Linked DNA regions of Homo sapiens: all the other regions are linked to region 1. The links are contacts of gene promoters, found by promoter capture Hi-C in human tissues and cell types (Jung and others, 2019). All regions are on one chromosome and are shown on one strand. The core of a region is centred on a gene start or on the middle of the fragment in contact, and the rest is flanking DNA. Distances in the headings are between cores, read along the strand shown. Region 1 holds the start of ZNF776 (zinc finger protein 776). Region 2 overlaps ZNF805 (zinc finger protein 805). Region 3 overlaps ZNF547 (zinc finger protein 547). Region 4 overlaps ZNF329 (zinc finger protein 329).

Evidence for each region. Contacts are between HindIII fragments. The study calls those that stand out against the background at their distance.
Region 2: a contact is called between a fragment that was not itself captured here and the fragment with the promoter of ZNF776 in region 1, in 1 of the 25 tissues and cell types used here (hippocampus).
Region 3: a contact is called between a fragment that was not itself captured here and the fragment with the promoter of ZNF776 in region 1, in 2 of the 25 tissues and cell types used here (H1 embryonic stem cells and dorsolateral prefrontal cortex).
Region 4: a contact is called between a fragment that was not itself captured here and the fragment with the promoter of ZNF776 in region 1, in 2 of the 25 tissues and cell types used here (aorta and liver).

The regions. Positions count from the first base shown.
Region 1 is chr19:57,744,074-57,749,829 of GRCh38, forward strand. ZNF776 (zinc finger protein 776) reads left to right here and starts at 2,742. Exons shown (of 3, transcript NM_173632.4): 1 at 2,742-3,018. The coding sequence starts at 2,986. RefSeq lists an enhancer at 2,754-2,803. The HindIII fragment of the contact is 15,716 bases long and covers 1-5,756 here.
Region 2 is chr19:57,258,480-57,264,074 of GRCh38, forward strand. It overlaps ZNF805 (zinc finger protein 805), which reads left to right. Exons shown (of 4, transcript NM_001023563.4): 4 at 1-4,249. Among named protein-coding and RNA genes, the nearest start is that of ZNF460-AS1, 19 kb to the right of the region's middle. RefSeq lists an enhancer at 4,730-5,263. The HindIII fragment of the contact is 9,939 bases long and covers 1-5,595 here.
Region 3 is chr19:57,368,493-57,374,320 of GRCh38, forward strand. It overlaps ZNF547 (zinc finger protein 547), which reads left to right. Exons shown (of 4, transcript NM_173631.4): 2 at 52-87; 3 at 3,290-3,416. The coding sequence starts at 64. Among named protein-coding and RNA genes, the nearest start is that of ZNF547, 7.9 kb to the left of the region's middle. The HindIII fragment of the contact is 8,803 bases long and covers 1-5,652 here.
Region 4 is chr19:58,131,016-58,137,174 of GRCh38, forward strand. All of the region lies in intron 3 of ZNF329 (zinc finger protein 329), which reads right to left. Among named protein-coding and RNA genes, the nearest start is that of ZNF329, 17 kb to the right of the region's middle. The HindIII fragment of the contact is 9,893 bases long and covers 1-6,159 here.

The DNA of each region.
Region 1 (5,756 bases), core at 1,492-3,991:
ACCAGTATCGTCAGCTTCCTCAGGAACCTTTACTAACATGGATAGTGAGAATAACTAACTTAGGGGAAACATCTTTGGTTTTAAATAATGCAGAGTGGAAGAACATGTTTGGGTTGATGTAGTACCTACAGGTCACTCTTCAACAATTGCAGATAGGTATGTATCATCCACACACACAAGAGTTTATTCCTGAAGGAACAGCCAGCCTGGGTGGGTGTATAAAAGCTACTCTGAAGTCTGTCTACTCGGAAAAGCGGGACTGTCTGACTCCCCCTATAAATGCCAAGTGGGGCTCCCCAGATGAACCAGCTTAATATGCTTCCCATGCAAGCCATGTGGAACTGGCATTATGATGATAGGAATATTTACCTACTGAATATGTTTATTACCCAGGTCATGGTAAATGTCTTGGTTTGGGGAACCCCATTTTCTTGGGCACCTTATGTAAACTTACTGCTGCAAAATTGAGCTATAGTCAGTCTTACCAAATTTGCTTCCTATTATGGGCCTTTCAGATGCTAATAAAACCATTAGATTAATTAATAAGATAGACAATGATGAAAGGTACAGGGGAGAGTCAAACAGCTCCTTCCAGGAAGGTAGAAATTTTTAAATAGTTATAAAGAAATAAGACAAATAAAGAAAACATGGATAGGAATGAAACTAAGAGGAAAAAGAAAAGGGGGAAATCATGATACTCATCCCAGCATGGTGGAAATCTTTAGATGGCTATTAGATGGAAATTAGATGAATAAAATAAAAACTGATCGGATTAAAACAAAATTCTGAATATAACACTATTGAAGGTTGGGTGGACCAAAGGAAGTTCCTGTTGATCCCCCAACATTAAAGGGCCTTAAGCTAAGTTGCTGTAGTTCCTGAAGTTTGGATAAATTTTAAAAGCCAGAAGGTAAAGATATAATGAGAAACCCCACCTGGAATGCCTAGGGTGATGGTTAGACTGGTTAATCAAGGTAGCACTTGGAAAAAAGGCCAAAGTCTCCTGGCCTGAACCCTGGGTGGAAACCTGAAGACATCTGCACAAGAAAGGGTAAAATGGTCTGGAGAGAAGAGTCCTGGGACTACAACATAAAGTAAAAGTTGACAGGACTATGAAAGTTGGAATGTTAAACATGCTTTTTTTTTTTTAAGTTGTACTACCAATAAACTGAGTTCTTTCCCTACTTTGTATTGGTCACAAAAAAAAGAACACCCAATTTGGGAAAAAAAAAAAAAAAGGCAAGCAAGTTTTATTTCTGAGCAGAAATGGAGAATGAGTAAGCTCTTGCTCTAAATGCCTCTTCTCCCTGAACATAGAAGACATAGGTTTTTTAAGAACTGAGCGGCTGGGTACAGTGGCTCATGCCTTTAATCCCAGCACTTTGGGAGGCCGAGACAGGTGGATCACCTGAGGTTGAGAGTTCGAGACCAGCCTGACCAACATGGAGAAACCCCGTCTCTACTAAAAATACAAAATTAGCCAGGTATGGTGGCTCATGCCTGTAATCCCATCCATAACATTAATTTATTAGGCAAAACACTCCTTGCCATGGAAACAGAAATAAAGAATAGTCACAAAAAAAAAAAAAGAAAAGAAATAAATAAAGTCTGTTTTATCTAATACAAAAAAAAAAAAATAGCCACTTCCCAGCAATAACATGAACTCCTGGATTTAAGACACAACCAATATCAACAGGTGGAGAGCATCTTCTGCATACGTGCCCCACCTTTGAAAACTGCAGCCATTTATCACTACCAAAATAGCATTTCTTTCATTGGTCTTCCTGTAAGATTGATAAATCTTAGATAAATTAATCCAGAATTAATTGAATATAAGTTGGAATCTCAAGCGAGGGATACTAAGTGGATAAAAGTGTTGCTCAATGTACTGGACACTATGATTGATTTTATAGGCAGGAGAGTTGTCTTCTGTGGGAATCACAGACAGAGATTCAGCATGTATTCCTGCTTTAGGGAACACAACATTTCTCCTCTATCTTCCTTGTCTTGTCCTATCTGGATTAGTTCTCTCTTGTCCCTGACAGACTGAGAAACTGACTCTAATGCCTCAGAGTGCATTCATGTGAATTTATAACACAATAATGTTTATCAGCCTCTGCTGCCAGTACCGGGATTTTGCGACTGAAAGACTGTTCAAAACGTTATGATAATTTGGATTTTTAGTCTTTGGGGGCATCCTAAATAATAAGTTTAGCATCGGAGAGCTCGAGTTCCCCAAAATCTAAAATAATATTTTTTCAAATACTTGAGTGATCAGTTACAGACACTAATCTCCAAAAATCTCAATACGGGTTCTAAGGCTAGGTGAGACTATCCTCTACCCTAGAAGGACATGCACTTTAAGGACAGGCCGCTGAGATGGAGCTGGGCCTTTCCTGCAAGTAAGTGAACGTGATGGTAGGGTATACCTGACAGCATAGTTTGACAGGGGATATAGACTTTCAAGGAGAAAATAGACATGAAATAGATACATGCAGAAGTATAGTCAAATTGAGGGAAGATGACACTTAGGCCAGAGTAGTGTTTATTCACCACTCTGTGCAATCAAGCGCCTCTGAGAAGGCCTTCTTTACCGCCTTGGAACTGTCTTGGAACCTGAGGAAACTACATAACCCAGAAATCTCTGCGTCGAATGACAGCGCGTCAGAGCCAATGAGGGCTCAAAATAAAGGCGTTTCCGCGGAAACAGTATAAAGGTGGGACTTCCGGCGTCCTCTACTAGTGGCCATTTTGATTGGTGTTGGGTGTATTTTCCAGTGAGAGACCGCGGAGTGTTGGGTCGTGTAGAAGTGACTGAACCCAGAAGGTGGAGACGAGACGTTGTCCCGACTGCACAGAGGCTGCTCTGCAGCTCCTTAAAGGCGCTAGGCGTGACCCGCACCAAGGCCGGGATCGGGACCACCGTGCCCGGGTACCTGCACTGCTCGCCCCCTCCTTTCGACCCCGCTTTCCCCACCCAGTCGGATGGCGGCGGCCGCGCTGAGGCCCCCGGCTCAGGTAATTGTGGCGTCTTCCGTGCCCTCAGGTCACCTCATCTTTACCTAAGTCCAAAAGCAGAGAGGAAGCGGCGCCTGCTCAAGGTTTTACACCCTGAACCCGGCGTCGGGACACTGAGGCGCTCTCTATGGGCCCCCGTTTTTGACACCCGCGGGATGCGCTCAGGAGAGCTACAGGCACAGGGAGCGGTGCAGGCAAAGGCCTGGAGATGAACTGAGCCGAGAGGATCGTAACCTAGGGTCCACAGGCACCTGTCGGGAGCAAAGTGTGAGGCAGAGCTCCTCCTGGAAGAGCAGGCTGAGGACCGTGTATTCACCCTGAGAACGCTGGAAGCCATGGACAGCTTCCAACAAAGGAAGGAAAAGATCAATGTCCAGGCTTTAAAGGTTTCCCAAAGTCCAGTCGAAAAAGAACACAGGGGATGACTTTTGGGCCCTGGGAGGTTGAATTCTTGTTCAACCTCTACAGATCAGATAGGTGCTAAGAGATGACATTTTGTACTGAGGCGCTCAGTTCAGACAACCAACTCGCGTTTACCTAGTTACAGGGCCAAGAAAGAGTTCAGGGAGGCCTGAGCTTATCAAATCTCATCAGGGATACATTCTTGTAGCTTGTGCCTCTCCTCTCAGGAACTCCTGGCTGCAGAAGCACTTGCAGAACCTCCGCAGGGAAGCGGAGGGTGTTATTCCCTCACTGGCCCTAACTCCTATCCACATGCTCTTTAGATTGGGATGTCCTGGGATTCTTAGGTACCTTTTTTTTTTTTTTTTTAAGTTTTTTGATATGGGAACCCTGGAGGAACCTTAAACCCAGGATCCAAAGTCTGTGACACAGGATATATGGAGGTATTCCCATTTCTGTCAACCAGTATAAACATACTTGGAAGGTTAACCCAGGAGTTAGTACCAGGATGTGAAATGCTTAGAGGTGAAACTGACCAGAGGGAGGAGGTGATGTTGCCACAGTTTCATCTGGCTGTAGTCTCCTCTGGCTGTACAGTGGAGAACAGACTGTGGGGTTGAGAGAGGAGGAAATAAGATGAGAGTTGAGGCTTTTGCCGTAATCCAAGTGAGGGTTAACAGACTAAGATTCATGGCTAAGGAGATGTGGCTGGATTCAAAGTTGATATTTTGTTACAGCATCTAGGTTTCCTAATACACAAAGTAAGGGCATGAAGAGAGCAATCAGGATCCCGAGGTTTTTGGTCTTAGTAGCTGTAGCTATGGAAGCTGCATCAGCTGAGATGAGCATGTTGGTAATAAACATAATTAGAATATTATGCAAATATCAGGATGACTGTTATGGCCATATGAAGAGTCAGAGACGAATAAGTGTAGGCATCAAATGGCTATGGACATGCAGGTTGGGGTATCTGGAAAGGGATTGACACTGGAGACATCTAATATATGGTAGCTAATGTGTATGCTATGGTGAGTGAGCCATGGGTCACATTAAGGAGAACACACTTCAGATTCTGGTGGTAAATCTTTTAGGGGACCAGAAAGCAGTGGTTGAATGATGAGGACTGCATCTGTTGCTTGGGTCCCTGGGTAATGTTACTGGGCTTCCTAAACACTGGAGAGGTAGGTAAGTGACCATGATGGTAGGGTATACCTGTCAGCATAATTTGACAGGGGACATAGACTTTCAAGGAGAGAATAGACATGAAATAGATATATGCAGAAGTGTAGTCAAATTGAGGGAAGATGACACTTAGGCCAGAGTGGTACTTATTCACCACTCTGTGCAATCAAGATTTGAGATGACTTTGGTAGTGTGTGGGGGGTTTCATTACACGTGCTGAATATGCTCAGGGAGAAATATGGTCATCTGTGACAGTAGGTCTTGGGCCTTAAATGGATTAAAAACAGGACTTTTTTTTTTTTTGAGACGGTGTCTCACTCTGTCGCCCAGGCTGGTGTACTGGTGTATAGTGGCGCAATCTTGGCTCATTACAACCTCCACCTCCCAGGTTCAAGTGATTCTCCTGCCTCAGCCTCCCGGTAGCTGAGAATACAGTTGCGTGCCACCACGCCCCACTAATTTTTTTTTGTATTTTTAGTAGAGATGTGATTTCACCATATTGGCCAGGCTGGTCTCGAACTCCTGACCTCATGATCCACCTGCCTCAGCCTCCCAAAGTGCTAGGATTACAGGTGTGAACCACCATGCCCATCCAGGACTGCTCTTTAAATGGCAATGGTATTAGGTGAATGGAAGTTGGTCCGTGTTGCTGAAGGGTAAGCCATTGTAGCACAGAAGTGGAATAAGACCATGGATATCTGAAGTTACATGTGGTTTTGCATGGATGTGGAGTAATGCAAGGAGGCATTCATAGAATTATTAGGGACTACCACTGCTAATGGGAACCATGGTCATTTTGTGTTATTATTGGATCCTGTTTGAATATGTGAAGCATATTGGATGCTGTCAGCCATATTGTGGTATAAAGCCAAAAATGGAGGCCCAATATGATGTGTCACCTTGACATCTAGTGATATTGGTATGACCTCAAATGACCTGAGAACCAATTCCCTTCCCACTAGGCTCTTTTAGATAATAATCAGCATGGCCTAATAATCCTTTTATTAGGGAGACCAGGCAGAATTCCTGGTTATTATACTTTGTAGTGAGTTTCAATTTTATCCTTACCCACAGTGTTATTCAAACAAGCCAGTTGCATCCTCCTAAGGGATTCGGGGGTCATCACACCCTCTTCATTTTAAAAGCTTGCATAT
Region 2 (5,595 bases), core at 1-2,500, 490 kb before region 1:
ATATATTTGTAGTGTTTTTTAAATATATTTCTTTGTATTTTTGTATTAATTTTTTAGTGGTTGCTTTAAGTAGTATAATGTACATATGTAACATAATTACAGTTAATGGTATGAAAAATTTAGCACTTTGATGTATAGAAACCTTACTTGGTCCCTTCACCTTGCCTGTTAATATAATTGTCTAAAGTAATTCCTCTTCAAAATTGAGCACCATGTTGGAAAATGTAATTTTTGCTTCCACTGTCAAATATATTTTACAAAAGTCACAGGAAGTATTGCTTGTTGATCTCTTTACCCATTCCACTATTCTTTCTTGAAATTCTAAGCCACCTTCTATTAACATTTTCTTTCTGTTTGGCGAACTTGTGTAACCTTTTTTCTAGGGTCAGTCTGCTGGTGTCTCTAAAAGTGTCTTTATGTTCCCTTCATTCCTGAGGGATATTTTTGTGGGATAATAGGATTTAGGGTCTGCAGTTCTTTTAGTACTTGAGAAACATGTTTGTTCCTTCTGTCCGCTATGGTTTCAGATGAGAAATCTGTTGCCATTTGAACCATTGTTCCCTAGTTCATAATGTGCCATTTTTATCAACCTGCGTTCAAAGTGTTTTGTTTTTTTTGTAGTGTTCAGAAGTTTGGTTATGAGGTGTGTGACATGGAATTTTTTTGAGTGTATCATGTTTGGTTTTTGTTTAGCTTTTTGATTTGTCGGTTTATGCCCTTTGCCAAATTTGGGAATTTTTAACCATTATTTCTTGAAATATTTTTTCATCCCTACTCTTTCTCCTCTCTGTGATATGAATGGTAGAGCTTTTGTTACTGTCTCAGAGGTCTCTTGTGCTTTCATGTTTACCCCCTTTTTCTGGTCTATTTTTCCCTTTTTTTCATATTGGTTAATTTCTGTTGACTTTTTTTCAGCTCACTGATTCTTTTTTTCTGCCATATGCAGTCTACTGTTGAGCTTGTCCAATGAGTTTTCGTTTTGGTTTTTGTATTTTTCAGTTGTTTAATTTCCATTTGTTTTGTTTTGTTTTGTTTTGTTTTTTTGAGACAGACTCTTTGCTCTGTTGCCCAGGCTGGAGTGCAGTGGCGCGATCTCTGCTCACTGCAAGCTCTGCCTCCCGGGTTCATGCCATTCTCCTGCCTCAGCCTCCCGAGTAGCTGGGACTACAGGTGCCCGCCACCATGCCCGGCTAATTTTTTGTATTTTTAGTAGAGACGGGGTTTCACTGTGTTAGCCAGGATGGTCTCGATTTCCTGATCTGGTGATCCACCTGCCTCGGCCTCCCGAAGTGCTGGGATTACAGGTGTGAGCCACTGTGCCTGGCCTCCATTTGGTTCTTTTGTACATCTTTGATTTCTTTGCTTAGTTTATAATACTAAAGGGCTCAGAAAACAGAAAAAACTAAATTCCAGAGTCATGGTTTTCTGGTGGTTTGTCTCAATATTTGAATAGAAATCCTAAATTATCTGGAGGAGTAGAAGTCCTGTAATCTTTTATATTGGGCTTCTTAAATATTTCTGTCAACAGATCTTATATCAGGGTGATCTGCATATCATTCAGAGTTACGTACTCCACGGGAAGGTTGTATGTAAAATCCTCCAGCTCTGTAAGCCTTGTTATATCCTCAATGGAGAAGGGGTCATTCCTTTTCTAAGATCACTCTTACACTTTTTTATTAGACACACACACACCCTTCCCCAACCAAACTTGTCTAAGTCCTCTGTCTTTCATACTCTTGTTTAGTCTTTAACTTCTCCTTATTAACCAGCTTCTTTCCCATAATGTATAGCTTTAGTCGGATCTCAAGCCTCGTTTCCAACCTATTTCACCCTTCCTTGCCTATCAAGCTCTGGTTATTCTTTCTTCCACACACATGCCCTGAGTAACTATTCTGTGCACTGTCGCCACCCCTTTACATTTCCTTTTACTCCCCAGATACTACTAAATGGCTTCCACCACCGTTGCCTGACTTAAGCACGTCTCAGAAAGGTCCCTTTTGACCCCCTCACTCTCTTTTTGGACCTCCATACTGCTAAATCTCTGACTTGAAGGTCCTTTCCTGGCTTCTGTGAATTCCTGGCTTTTTTCCTTTTTAGGGTCTGTGTCTTTCTTCCATCTGTAAAACAGCTTTACTTCCCAGCATCCATCATGATCATTGCTGTTTTCTAACTTGTCCTTCACCCCATGACTGAGTTAATTTGCGCTGAAGACACTTTACTCTCAATTATCTACAGTGTTTCCCTAAATCTGTGTCTCCAGGTTGGATGTTTCTCATGTCGTTAACCACTGGTCATCCTTCCACACCTTTTCTGTATTTGCACTCACTGAGCCTATATGCATGTATCATGTGGCCATGACCTTGGCCGTGGGGATGCACCCATAATCATCATAAGAGAACACAAATTATTACTGTGTATCAGACATTGTTTCGAATGTTTTACATGCGTCAGCTCTTTTAACCTTTATGACAACTCCATAATGTTATTTCCCCCCTTTAACTGATTAGAAAACTGAGGTACAGAAAGATTAAGGAATTTGTCAAAGATTTCACAATTATGAAATTTGGGTTTGGGGACTGGAAGCCACTGCACTGGCTTCAGAATCCATGTCCTTAACCACTTTATTGCTTCTCATAAGGTGGGTCTTTGTTTCCTGGTCATCACTTGTTTTTACTAAAATGGGTCAAACTGTGCTCATTTATTTATAATCTACTATTCTTATTTGACAGTACATCTTGGCCATTCCTTCAAGCAAATGAGATAAACCAGACTCACTCTTTAATGCCTGCATAAGCTATTGTGACTGTAGAAAAGACGGAGAATGTCTGGGTTTGAGGATATGTGGGAGGGGTGGGGAGAAGGAGTAGAGAAGGGCTAAGGCATGCATGTTGTTTTAGGTGTGTTTGAGATGCCTGAAGAACATCAGTGTATCCCCCTAATTTCTGTCATGTTACTCAAACCAGACACATTGTGGCCATTTCTTTTTCCTTTATCATTCCCACGTCCGGCCACTGCCCCATTCCTTTTTGTTCCGTAGTAGACCCTCAATATATATGTGTGTGTTGGTAAATGGCCATACACAGCAGGGTATTTTTTATTATTATTTTCAGTTCCCTCAGCGCGTTTACCACAAAGCTGTGCATATAGGTGGCACCATATATGGCGTACCTTGACCTCGAAGAGAATCTACATGGACTTTTATGGACCTACGTACACAATTTTAGAAATCATAATAAATGAATGCTGGAGTCCTCAAGACCCCTTCCAGATTTGATTTGCTAGGAAGACTCACAGGACTCAGCATTTTGTCATACTCAATGGCTATGATTTACCACACCGAAAGAATCCAGAGCAAACTCAGCAAAAGGCTCAAACCCAAGTCCAGAGGAAACCAGGCACAATCTTTGAGAATCTTAATGAAATCACACAGGATGTGCTTCATTGAAGCTCCATCTGGGACTTAAAACAACACACGTGAGATGTGTTCCAGGAAGTCGTCTTGAGCACCCATTGCTCAGAGTTTATATTGGACTTGCTTTCTAGCACATACCACAATTGTAGACCTCCAGAAGAACAGGAGGTGTTCAGCGTAAGACAATTTAGGCACACGGAGCTACTTCTCATTACTGGGAACAATGGGAAACTTCCCAAAACCTAAAGTACAGACTCCAGCCAAGGATGAACCTTGCAAGATCAAAGAATAGCAGTCTCTGGCCTGCTCTGTTCTCTTTTTCACAGTAACTTAAATGGAAAAATGCTGAGTTAGCTTAAGTTTCTGTAACAAACATTAAGCAAATAAAATTTTCTATAACAGAAATAAGCCATAGCTTTGAGATGAAGGCTTATATACGTGTAAACCATTGTAACCAAGAAAAAAAAAAAAAGTCAGAGTCACAGTGAAAATACTTAACAAACTAGCCAGGATTTAATTCAGTGATGACAGGGAACAGAGGAAGTCTTGTGAGAAAGGATCTTGCCTCTGCCTAGTATCTTTCACAGATAGGCTTCAAGTGGTTTGATTTGCAGATACACCCTTTCTTGGCCTTTATTTCGGCAAAGATGTGATGGGTAGGTAAATGCCGTGTTCTTTCCCTAGCACGTATGTCAGTTTCTCATCCACTCTTTGTTCTTGCTATTGAAAGTTGTAGCTTCTGGCTACAACAGAGATAGTTGAAGAATATGGAGTTCGCCATAATTTATCATTAAATGTGGATAATTTGAGATTAAAGAATATGTTGTTGCAGGCTTAGTCACTTTGATGGATCTGTCTGTGAGTTTCACTTGGAGGAAGTGGGAGCAGTTGGCTTCAGCTGAGAGGGCCCTTACAGAGACATGATGCTAGAGACCTTGAGAAATCTGGTCTCTTGTATATGTAACTCCTCTTTGTACTCAGACTCCGGCCCACAGATAGCCTTTCCTTTCCACTGTGGAAAGTTGGGGAGGCTCCACAATGCTCAGTGATGTATTTCAATTTTGAGAATTGAATATTTTTAATGATTGCTAAGAGATGGATTATTTTTGCTCATAGCAAAATCTGTTTGTGTTTCATATCTCACAATTGGAAGGTCTCAGCTAAATTGTAAATGGACAGTTTCTTTTGCCTCTTTCGGAGTAGTGTCAAGAGTGTGGACCTGGGAGACAGACTACCTGCTTATACTTTCTGTCCTTGTTCCTACCTGCTGGAAAGGACATTCATAGCCACTCTGCCTCACTTAAATTGGAGATCCATGTATTCACATGTTTTTATTATGCTGGCTTTGAGAGAGAAGATCTCACTGTCACCCAGGCTGGAGGGCAGTGGTGCGATCATAACTCACTGCAGCCTCAAACTCCTGGGCTCAAGTAATCTTCCCATCTCAGACTCCCAAAGTGCTGGGATTACAAGCATGAGCCACTGTACTGGCTATTCTGCTGTTTGGCAAGTGGAGCCTTGCTGATCCTGAGAGACTGCCCATCCCAGGACTAGCTAATTTTAAGTGGTAGCAAAGGACTCCCCTGGGTATGTGCCTTTGATATGCAACCAAACAATTCAGTGCCCATTCCCTTCCCCCACCCCCTTTATCAAGGCCTCACACATGGAGCCACTATCTTCCTGCCATAACCACTCCAGGGTCAGATATTAAGCAAGTAGGGACAGTTCCTAATGAAATTCAGGCCTGTAATCTCAGCACTTTGGGAAGCTGAAGTGGGAGGATCACTTGAGTCCAGGAGTTTGAGACCAGCTTGGGCAACATAGTGAGACCCCATCTCTACAAAAAGATATAATAATTAGCTAGGCATGGTGGTGTATGCCTGTACTCCCAGCTACTTGGGAGGCTGAGGTGGGAGTATTAAATGAGCCCAGGAGGTTGAGGCTGCAGTGAGCTATGATGGTACCACTGTACTCCAGCCTAGGTGACAAGAGTGAGAGCCTGTCTCAAAATAAAATAAAATTAAAAAGCCAAGCCTAACCCTGCTTAGCTTGCTTACCTTGTCTTGACCATTCTTACCTGCAAAAGCACAGTGAAGGTTCTTGCCCATGCTTTCCCCCAGCTCCTGCTGTTTTTCCGATCCTGCTGCTTCCGCATGTGGTCCTACACTGCCTGGTGTGTGCCC
Region 3 (5,828 bases), core at 1-2,500, 380 kb before region 1:
GTAAGATCTTCCCATCGTTGCCCATTTCTCACGGTTTCCCTCTTCCTTCAGGGTCCCCTGGCGATGGCAGAAATGAACCCTGCACAGGTGAGTGGAGTGTTTTCTACCTTTCACCTACCAGTTATCTCATAGATGGTTTTGGCACCTCCATGTAAAGAAAAGTGGTGTCCAGAGACTCTCTTTCTGTCTTTCTCCCTCTCTTATGTCTGAAAAGTGAGTGATTCCACCAGTTCTAGTATCTTAAATTAGGTCTGGGATTTTTGTTTGATTGTTTTAAGTTTACTGTGACACCTTACCTGGATGGCCCTGGATTATGTGGAGTGGCTCCCATTTTTGACAGTTGACGTGGTAACATCTGTCAGAGTGTCATGGGCACAAGATTAAGAATGTTTCAGTGTTTAGAGGAGAGACTGAACTGGATTTTTAGGGAACTGCAAGTGTCTGTTATATCGGATAGGAATAGGGAGCAGAGTGGGAGGTGGCTAGAGACACACAAACATCAGGCCTGGAATGACAGCCTAGGTCCTGGGTCTCTAATCTAAGGGAGGTGGTAGATGGGGAAGATTTGAAGCAGAAGAGGGCAGTGATAGGACCCTAGCTTAAGGAACTTTCTTTGGCGTCTGAGTGGAGGACAGACTGTGGAGGTGAGGGTAATGGCAGGGAGATCTGAGAGGATGTTCCTGCAGCAGTCTAGGTGGATGTTGGTGGTGACTTGTCAAGAGTAGCGGTGGCTTCAGGATGTGTTTTGAACTGGAGCTGCCCACATTTTATGATGTAGAGAGTGAGGCAGCTGGGGGGGTGGGATAGAAGGGGAATCAGGAGTGGCCCCATGGTTTTTGTTTGGAAGCATAGATGCTCCATCAGCTAAGATGGGAGAAGTCAGCAGTATTAGGAATTTTCAGAGTGAGTGTGAGGAGTCAGTGTTTGTTCAAGCCACAGATGTCTCAGAGACTCCTGGTGGAGGAGTTCAGGTTGGAGACGTCCACACTATGGTGGCTGTCGTATGGACCAGGATGAAGCCATGGATTCAGTTTAGGTGACAGCATCTCTAGGTTATGGTGGCAGTGCTGTTCGAAGACAGAGAATTGGAATGGGGCATGAGAACTGGGTCTCTTACTGGGTAGCTGTGCAGTGGTGGAGGAGTCACTAGACAAATGAGGGAATGGAGTGTTTGTGGGGATGAGTGTATGTGAGATGGTGGGGTATAGGAGTGAGAAAGACTTCTGAAGGAGAGTGGACATGATGGGGTTGCTGAGGAGGGTAATAGGGTGAGGTCGGAGAGTTGCTAAGCATCAGTTGGAATGAGATGAGGATGGGAATTCTATTAGTCTGTTTTCATATTGCTACAAAGAACTACCTGAGACTGGGTACTTTATGAAGAAAAGAAGTTTAATTGACTCACAGTTCTTTTTTTTTTTTTTTTTTTTTTTTGAGATGTGGCCCAGGCTGGAGTGCAGTGGCACAATCTCGGCTCACTGCAATCTCTCCCTGCCAGGTTCAAGCGATTCTTCTGCCTCAGCCTCCTGAATAGCTGGGACGACAGACTCACCCCACTACGCCCAGCTAATTTTTGTATTTTTAGTAGAGATGGGCTTTCACCATGTTGGCCAGGATGGTCTTGATCTCCTGACCTCGTGATCCATCCTCCTCAGCCTCCCAAAGTGTTGGGATTACAGGCGTGAGCCACCGCACCCAGCCCATAGTTCTTCAGGCTTAACAGGAAGCATAACTCGGAGGCCTCAGGAAACTTACAATCCTGTGTCCATGAGGCAGGACACAGCTGAGAGTATGTGAAGTCCTCACATGGTTTGGGCACCTGACAGTGAAGTGAGAAACAGGGCCATGTAGGGAACCTTCAACCCAGGGCTTAGGGCTGCCCCCGGTGCTAGGGAACTTTGGTGTTCTGGGGCAGGACTGGGAGTGAATTGGATGCTGAGCGTATTTGCCGTGCACCACCTGGTTTCTGTGTGCAGAGTGGCCTGTTAGGAGGTGAAGGAAATGCCTGTGGTGTGGGCTGGGAGGTGTCTGTGGAATTGACTGGAGTGGAGGTGTGAGAGATGGGATTGGAGTGCTGTCCAAAGAGTGATGTGCAGGCAGGAGGAGTGTGAATGGAGGGCCTCAGGCCCTGGCCCTGGTAGCTCAAGGGAGGAGGATGAGTCTGAGTTTGGTTGTCTTGGGAGGCAAGATCTGGGTGACTCCATGGAAACTGGCTGGCAGGAGAGGATGGATCCCCCCACGGGAGGCCCACATTCCTTTTCTACCTTATCTTCCATCTGTTTCCTCTGTGTGCTGGACACGGTGGCCAATGTCAATATGGAGAGAAAAGTCACTCATGCCACCTGGATGTGGTTTCTCTTCCACATTGGGAGGGTGTAGAGATTGAGGAAGGAAAGGAGGTGTAGGGGAGAGGGATGAGTTCCTGGAGAGAGAAAAGTAGCAGTGATTGTACCCATTGGGGTTTTTTGTTTTTTTTTTTTTAGATGGAGTCTTGCTGTGTTGTCACCCAGGCTGGAGTGCAGTGGCATGATCTTGGCTCACTGCAACCTGCACCTCCTGGATTCAAGCAGTTCTGCCTCAATCTCCCAAGTAGCTAGGACTACAGGCATGTGCCGCCATGCCCACCTAATTTTTGTATTTTTAGTAGAGATGGGATTTCACTGTGTTGGCCAGGCTGGTCTTGAACTCCTGACCTCAGGTGATCTGCCCGCCTCAGCCTCCCAAAGTGCTGGGATTATAGGCATGAGCCACTGTGCCTGGCCCCCATGGAGTTTTAATTTATGGATGTGAGTGAGTGATGCCAGGGACAGGCCAATGACACTGAAAGAAGATATTTATTCCTTACGTTTCCCTAAGGAGGTTACATACCACATAACACAGGGCCACACGGTGAAACACCAGATTTGATCAGGAGGAAAATTGGAGTGAGTTTAGTTTAGTCCACAGATGCTGTTGGGGTTTCCAAGGGAAACAAGGCAGGGCTGGCTGTCAGGATAGTTTGGCTAGTTTTAGTAATTCCAGGACACCTGGGCTATTGGGACTGTCCCTAGTTGTGCAGTACCTGTCCCTGGGTTGATTTAGAGCATGGGAAATACTGACTTGGTTTGAGAAAGTTAGAGATGGAGATGGTTAAGAATATGTGCCCAGGATGGTAGGGGAGATGGAAACACATTTAGCTGTTAGTTTGTCCCTGTGTTTAATGGGTGGTAAATATAAGTAGAAAATAAATAGAGAACTTAAGTAAATACAGTTTGAAAAGCTGCTCATGTATTCATCTTTCCCAATTTGGCAGGGTCATGTGGTTTTTGAAGACGTGGCCATATATTTCTCCCAGGAGGAGTGGGGGCATCTCGATGAGGCTCAGAGATTGCTGTACCGTGATGTGATGCTGGAGAATTTGGCCCTTTTGTCCTCACTAGGTAAGGCCCTCACACTTGCCCAGTGTCCTGGGTTGGGCTGTGTTGTCTCCTTTTACCTGAAGGCAGCTCTGCGTTTCCCACAGTGAGACCATGGGTGCTGCTTCTTTTCCTTGTTTCCTGACATATGTTCCATGAGAGTCAGGACTGCAATATGTGCTGTGTGCTTCCTTTTTCCTGGCAGCCCCATCCTCTGCTGTTCTGAGGCTTGCAAGAAAGGGCTCAGGATCCAGAAATGTTGAAGGTGACATAGAGACCCACTGGCCCTGTGTTCTATTCAAATGCATGAGACCTCTGTGCTCTGTTGTTCCCTTGCTCTTGCCAATATTTCTTGGTCCCTTCTTGTTCCTGGAATTTCTGGCACTGACCTGATCACTAATTTGGTGAACCACTGGCTTGATTGTGTAGGATGTAGAAATCTTCTGTGAAGTTCTGGTGATTATCGAATGTGAGATATCATCAGGTGATCTCTCTGGGAATGTGCTGTCTTGTCTCTTTCTGTGTCTTTCCCCTAGGACTGGTCTCTTTCAGGTCTCACAGACTGTCACCTTAAGCAATGGGGAGGGCCCTGGTACCCAAGAGGGTGGATATTACTCCCTGAAGGGCTGTAGAGACTCAGAGGGACATGATCCTGGTTCCTGGGAGTTGGGAAAAGGTGTAATATCACAGCTGGGGTCATATTACTAGGAATCTGTCTGGTGACCCCTGTTGTTTAGTTGAAGACTGGTTGCCACAACTCACTCTTCTTTTCCTTCCCCCGTTGTCATTTTTACTCTGACTTCTAATCCCTGGCTTCCAGCCGTTACCTATTTTCTTCAACTGCTCCCTCTGCAGTGCCATCCACTGCATGACCTGTACTTAAGGTGAGGTCTGCATGTATTTGTCAGTAGTCCCTGAACACCATCTCCTCTGTCACAATCAGATCTCTCTGGGTTTAGACACAGCCTTCTACACACTGCTCACTAGTCACCAGCAGCCATGGCCTGTGGAAAGCCATTTGCAGAGAAGTGACTTGGAGACCCTCCTCCTCTCTGCACTGTACCCCTCTCTTGTGTTCTTACCCATCATCAGGGCTCTCCCATTATGGGTATTTGCCAGGTCCAACTCTGCACAGCAGGCCTTCTTCTCATTGGCCTTAGTGTTTGTATTACTTCATTCTCACTCTGCTATTAGGAAATACCCAAGACTGGGTAATTTCTAAAGGAAAGAGGTTAATTGACTCACAGGTCCCCATTGCTGGGGAGGCCTCAGGAAACTTACAGTCATGGCGGAAGGCAAAGGAGAACTAGGCATCTTCTTCACAGGGCGGCAAGACAAATGAGTCCAAGCAGGGAAAATGCCAGACACATAAAACCAGCAAATTTCATGAGAATTTACTCAGTTTCATGAGAACGGCATGGGGGAAACTGTTCCCATGATTCAGTTCTGTCCACCTGGTCCCACCCTTGACACGTGGGGATTATGGGGATTACAATTCAAGATGAGATTTGGGTGGGGACAGAGAGCCTAACCATATTATTCCACCCCGGCCCCCCCCACCCAATTTTATGTCCCTTCCACATTTCAACACCAATCATGCCTTCCTAACAGTCCTCCAAACTCTTAATTCACTCTAGCATTAACCCAAAAGTCCAAGTCCAAAGTCTCATCTGAGATGAGGCAAGTCCCTTCTGCCTATGAGCCTGTAAAATCAAAAGCAAGTTAGTTACTTCTAAGATATAATGGGGATAGAGGCACTGGATAAATGTACCTATTCCTAATGGAAGAAATGGGCCAAAACAAAGCCTACAGGCCCCATGCAAGTCCAAAACCCAGCGAGGCAGTCATTAAATCTTAATGCTCTGAAATGATATCCTCTGACTCCATCTCTCACATCCAGGGCACAGTGATGCAATAGGTGGGCTCCCACTGTCTTGGGCAACTCTGCCCCTGTGGCTTTGCAGGGTACAGACCCCCCCTCAGCTGCTTTCATGGGCTGGCATTGAGTGTCTCTGGCTTTTTCAGGCACACGTTGCAAGCTGTTGGTGGATCTACCATTCTGGGGACTGGAGGACGTGGCCTTCTTCTCATAGCTCCACTAGGTAGTACCCCAGTAGGGAGTCTGTGTGGGGGCTCCGACCCCACATTTCCCTTCCTGCAGTGCCCTAGCAGAGGTTCTCCGTGAGTTCCACCCCTGCAGCAAACCTCTGCCTGGACATCAGGCATTTCCATACCTCCTCTGAAATCTAGGTGGAGGTTCCCTCCCAAATATCAGTTCATGACTTCTTTGCACCCACAGGCCCAACACCATGTGCAAGCCACCAAGGCTTGGGGCTTAAACTCTGAAGCAATGGCTGGAGCTGTACCTTGCCCCTTTTAGCCATGGCTGGAGTTGAAGCAGCTGGGATGCAGGGCGCCATGTCCCGAGGCTGCATA
Region 4 (6,159 bases), core at 3,548-6,047, 390 kb after region 1:
ATTTTTTAAGGTAAAATGAAAATAGACCCTTGCCTCAGAATACATACATACATATATGTCTACATTCTAGGCAATTTAAATATATATACATGTATATGTGTATATGTGTGTGTGTGTGTGTGTGTGCGCGTGTATTTACATTTCAGAAGGATACAGGCTGCAACATAAAGTCAAAGTTTAAATAATGTAGTATGCCTTCATAAGTGTGGCAGACTTTGATCAACAAAACTTAACCAAAAAACCATATGGCCAAGCATTGGGGGTCATGCCTGTAATCCCAGCACTCTGGGAGGCTGAAGTGGGAGTTATCACTTGAGCCCACACAGAAGGCTGAGGCTGCAGTGAGCTGTAATTGTGCCACTGCATTCCAGATTGGGCAAAAGAGACCATGTCTTAAAAACAAAAAACAAAAACCAAAAAATAAAAAACAGACAAGGATTAAGAAGTCTGATATCAGCATTCAAATTTTCCATCCAATAAAAGACACAATAAGAGACAAAATGCAAGTGGCAGATAGGGAGAAAATAGGACTTAAAAGCACAAAGAATTATTGCCCAAGAGCTATAGAGGATTCTTACAGAGAGAAAATAAGATTTAAAAGCACAAAGAATTACTGCCCAAGAACTACAGAGGATTCTTACAGAACAGCACATAAAAAGAAAAAAAATGGGCAAAGTAATCAAAGAGCACTTCGTGAAGGGAAAATAGAAATGTCCTGAAAACATTGGCTGGGAGCAGTGGGTCACGCCTGTAATCCCAGCACTTTGGGAGGCTGAGGCAGGTGGACCACAAGGTCAGGAGATCGAGACCATCCTGGCTGACACGGTGAAACCCCGTCTCTATTAAAAATACAAAAAATTAGCCAGGCGTGGTGGCGGGCGCCTGTAGTCCCAGCTACTTGGGAGGCTGAGGCAGGAGAATGGCATGAACCCGGGAGGCAGAGCTTGCAGTGAGCCGCGATAGCGCCACTGCACTCCAGCCTGGGCAACAGGGCGAGACTCTGCCTCAAAAAAAAAAAAAAAAGAAAGAAAAAAAAGAAATGTCCTGAAAACATCAATATTTATTTTCTCATTCTATCATTCAGGCAATTCCAAACTGCGACTTTAAGAACACAAAATATACACATTTCACGTGAGTAAAAATAAAATGAAGTACAATAATATAAAGCTTTGGTAGGTCACAAGGGAAGAGGGCTTGGAAAGTGGTCAGCGTGCTTGGCAGGGTACCTTAGTGGCAGCTGTGAAAACATAAACTGGGGGCAGGCGCGGTGGCTCACGCCTATAATTCCAGCAGTTTGGGAGGCTGAGGTGGGTGGATCACCTGAGCTCAGGAGTTCGAGACCAGCCTGACTAACATGGTGAAACCCCACCTCCACTAAAAATACAAAAATTAAGCCAGGCACAGTGGCTCACGCCTGTAATCCCAGCACTTTGGGAGGCTGAGGCAGGTGGATCACCTAAGGTCAGGAGTTCAAGACCAGCCTGGGCAACTATGTCTCTACTAAAAATACAAAAATTAGCTGGACGCGGTGGCGCATGCATGTAATCCCAGCTACTCGGGAGGCTGAGGTAGGAGAATCGCTTGAGCCTAGGAGGCAGAGGTTGCAGTGAGACAAGATTATACCATTGCACTCCAGCCTGGGGGACAGAGCGAGACTCCGTCTGAAAAAAAAAAAAAAAAAAGAAAACATAAATTAGGTATATTCTACCACCCAGCAGTTCCACTGGTAGGTATCTCAGAGTCAGAAAGCTGGATAAACGAACATCAATCCATACCTACGTAGATAGATGGTCTTTTTCTTTTTTCTTTTTTTTTGAGACAGAGTCTTGCACTGTCACCCAGGCTGGAGTGCAGTGGTGCGATCTCAGCTCACAGCAAGCTCCGCCTCCCAGGTTCACGCCATTCTCCTGCCTCAGCCTCCCCAGTAGCTGGGACTACAGGTGTCTGCCACCACGCCCAGCTAATTTTTTGTACTTTTAGTAGAGACAGGGTTTCACTATGTTAGCCAGGATGGTCTCGAGCTCCTGACCTCGTGATCCGCCCGCCTCAGCCTCCCAGAGTGCTGGGATTACAGGCGTGAGCCACCGCGCCTGGCCAATAGATGGTCTTAAAGGCCAGCAGAGAGAAGAGAAACCACCAGTGAATGACGAAAATTATTACAATAGATCACTTAATAGAAAAACTGGAAACCCAAAGGTAACGGAAGGCTACTTTCAAAGCACTGAAGGAAAAAATCTATCAGTCACACTATTGTTCAAGAGCAAAGGTGAGATAAAGACTGTTTCAGAGGCTGGATGTGGTGGCTCATACCTGTACTCTCAACACTTTGGTAGGCCAAGGTGGATGGGTCACTTGAGCCCAAGAGTCTGAGACCAGTCTGGGCAACATGGTGAAACCCCGTCCCTACAAAAGATACAAAAATTAGCAGGGTGTGGTGGCATGCGCCTGTTAGTCCCAACTACTTGGGAAGCTGAAGTAGGAGAATTGCTTGAGCTCCAGGGGTTGAGGCTGCGGTGAGCTATGATTCACTCCAGCCTGGACAACAGTGAGACTGTCTCAAAAAAAAAAAAAATTCAGAAAAGCAAAAGCAGAGTTCATTTCCAAGGATACTAGCCAGAGGAATTAGAAAATGTTGTTCTTCAAAAAAACCCCAAGAACGAAGGAAGGAAAAACAAAGGAATTGATGAATATGATGAATGTGGGCTAGGTGTGGTGACTCACACCTGTAATCCCAGCACTTTGGGAGGTCGAGGTGGGGGGATCACTTGAGCCCAGGCATTTATGACTAGTCTGGGCAACACAGTGAGATGTCATCTCTTAAAAAAAAAAAACTGATGAATGTATATTTAAATCAAATCCAATGCTGACCACATGAAATGCAGAAATCACGACTTGGAATTAATGGGATAGACTAATATACTAGACAACAGTGGCCAATGAGGTGGGAATGGGGCAACAGAATCAAGTGTTCTGAAGTCCTCAAGTTTCTCATGATTCATGTTAGACCTGCTCAAGTCAGAATTAAAAGAATAAATGTAGTATAAAACATCTAAGCCCACAGAGCAGTAGTTTTTAACCAGGGATGTTTCTACTTCCAGAAGATACTTGGCAATATCTGGAGATGATTTTGGTTGTCAGTCTGACTAGGGGGCAGATGTTCCTAGGAGCCACGGATGCTGCTAAATATCCTATAATGCACAGGATGGACTTCCACAACACAAAATGATCCAGCCCCAAATGTCCATAGTACTGAAGTTGAAAAACATTGTAGAGGGAGGTCAGAATTAAAAACAAAAACAAACAGACAAAAAACCCGATCAATCCAGAAAGCTGGTAAGGGGTAAAAAACAGCACAAAAAGGACAGACTAAATACAAAGTGTAAAGTAAGGTATCAACAATTACAATAAATATAAATGGCCTTGATGGGTCAGATAAAGACTGCATTAGACTGTATTAAAAAACATGTTTGTAACAGGTATTCCTAAAGCAAAAGGACATAAAAGCCAAAAGTGAAAGGATGGGACAGGTGAATGCCAAACAAAGAAGGGTTTTGTGGCTCTTTACAAACCAAAGAAAAATTTCAAGTGAGGATCACAGGGCAATGTAACAGTAACAACATGCCTCAAAACACAGAGCAGGCCGGGCGCGGTGGCTCATGCCTGTAATCCCAGCACTTTGGTAGGCTGAGGCAGGCGGATCACTTGAGGTCAGGAGTTCAAGACCAGCCTGGCCAACATGGTAAAACCATGTCTCTACAAAAACACAAAAATTAGCGAGGCATGGTGGCACATGCCTGTAATCCCAGCTACTCCAGGAGGCTGAAGCAGAAGAATTGCTTGAATCTGGGAGACAGAGGTTGCAGTGAGCCAAGATTGACCCACTGAACTCCAGCCTGGGCAACAGAGCAAAACTCCATCTCAAAAAACAAACAAACAAACAATCAACAACAAAAAAACACAGAGCAAAGCCAGCTAGGTTTGTAGGAAGAAAACAGCAAATCTAAGGATAGTGGGAAATTTTATTTATCTGTTTTTTGAGGTTTTTTTTTCTGATCAAGTAGCTCAGATTATATTTAAATTTTAAAAAATGTTTTAATGTAATTGTTTAATTTTTATAATGGGGGTCTCAGTATGTTGCCCAGGCTGGCCTCAAACTCCAGAGCACAAGCGATCCTCCTGCCTCAGCTTCATGAGTAGCTGGGACTATAGGCACATGCCACTGCAACCAGCCATAGTGGGAGGTTTTATTTTATCTATTTAATTTTTTTTTTTGAGACGGAGTCTCACTCTTGTCGCCAAGGCTAGAGTGCAGTGGCACGATCTCGGCTCATTGCAACCTCTACCTCCCGGGTTCAAGCAGTTCTCCTGCCTCAGCCTCCCGAGATGGGATTACAGGTGCCCACCACTACGCCAGCTAATTTTTGTATTTTTAGTAGAGACAGGTTTCACCATGTTGACCAGGCTGGTCTCGCACTCCTGGCCTCAGGTGATCTGCCTGCTTCGGCCCCACAAAGTGCTGGGATTATAGGCATGAGCCACTGCACCCGGCAGGTGGGAGGTTTTAATGAACCTCTTTTAGAAATGAAAACGCAGAAGAATGGAAAAGAGTTATGCAGGACAGAATGTAGTTACCCAATCTGATCACACAGCTGGATGAAAATCTACGTACAAATTAAAATAAAATGCTTTCTTTCTAAGCACAAGTGGAATATTTGCTAACACTGACTAGGTCAAAGAAAAAGTTCAACAAAGCCCAGACTACAGCCTCTTGACTTCGAGGCAGCAAGTTAAAAGCCAGTAACAGAAAGAAAACCAAATATAATAAAACAGCGAGTAAAGCAAACTCCTATTTATTTGGAAAAATAAAAACTTGTTTCTCAGTAATTGACAGATCAAAGAGAAAACCTGATAGAAATTACAAAACACCTAGAACAGGCCACGCACGGTGGCTCATGCCTTGTAATCCCAGCACTTTAGGGGGCAGAGGCAGGTGGATCACGAGGTCAGGAGTTCAAGACCAGCCTGGCCAATATAGTGAAACCCCATCTCTACTAAAAATACAAAAATTAGCCAGGCATGGTGGCGCATGCCTGTACTCCCAGCTACTCGGGAGGCTGAGGCAGGAGAATCGCTTGAACCTGGGAGGCAGAGGTTGCAGTCAGCCGAGATCATGCCACTGACTCCAGTCTGGGTGACAGAGCGAGACTCCATCTCAAAAAAAAAAAAGAAAAAAAAGAAAAGGAAAACACCTACAACTACACAATGATGAAAACAGCACATCTCAAAACATGTGGCAAATGAGAATGCAGAATGCAGCTAATAGTTCCTAGATTGAAAATGCTGGTCTTTAATGCCTATATTTTAAAAAGAAGGCTAGGTCAGGCATGGTGGCTCACACCTGTAATCCCAGAACTTTTAGAGGCTGAGGCAGGGATATCACTTGAAGCCAGGAGTTTGAAACCAGCCTGATTATCATAGTAAGACTGTGTCTCTATGAAAGAAAAAAAAAGTTAGCTGGGTGTGGTGGTGTAACTCGCCTTTAGTCCCAGGTAGTTGGGAAGCTGAGGCAGGAATATCCCTTGAGCCCAGAAGTTCAGGAGTTCAAGGCTGCAGTGAGTCATGATCGCATCACTGCACTCCAGCCTGGGTGACAGAGTAAGACTGTCTCCAAAAAAAAAAAAAAAAAAAAAAAAGGGACTAAAGATGAAGTTACTGTGGGTCCTGAAGCTACAGATGGCAGCAAGTCAACAGCCATGGTGGTCTCCAAGGCTGCCCACAGATTTTCTTTAGGCCATCGCTGATGGGTTCTATGTATCATTGAAATGAATGGCAATAACACATTCTGGGATGTGGGTAACGCATGGTGCCCTCAGAATGGTCTTGTTGGCTTCACTGTATGACTGATGATCCTCCAACAATAAACAACCTACTGCTTGTAAACTCATTGGACAAGCCATAAACTCAAAGTGATATGTACCTTATTCCACCACTAGAAAGAAGATTCAGGAGTAAGTCCCACCTTCAACACCTTGTAAGTACAGATAAAAAAAAAAAAAAAACAGTTTAAACATGTAAAAAATGGGACTTTTTATGTAGTTGTACTTTTAGGGCTCACCATTAACTTGATTATAATTGACTAAAAGAAAAGAAGACCGAAGA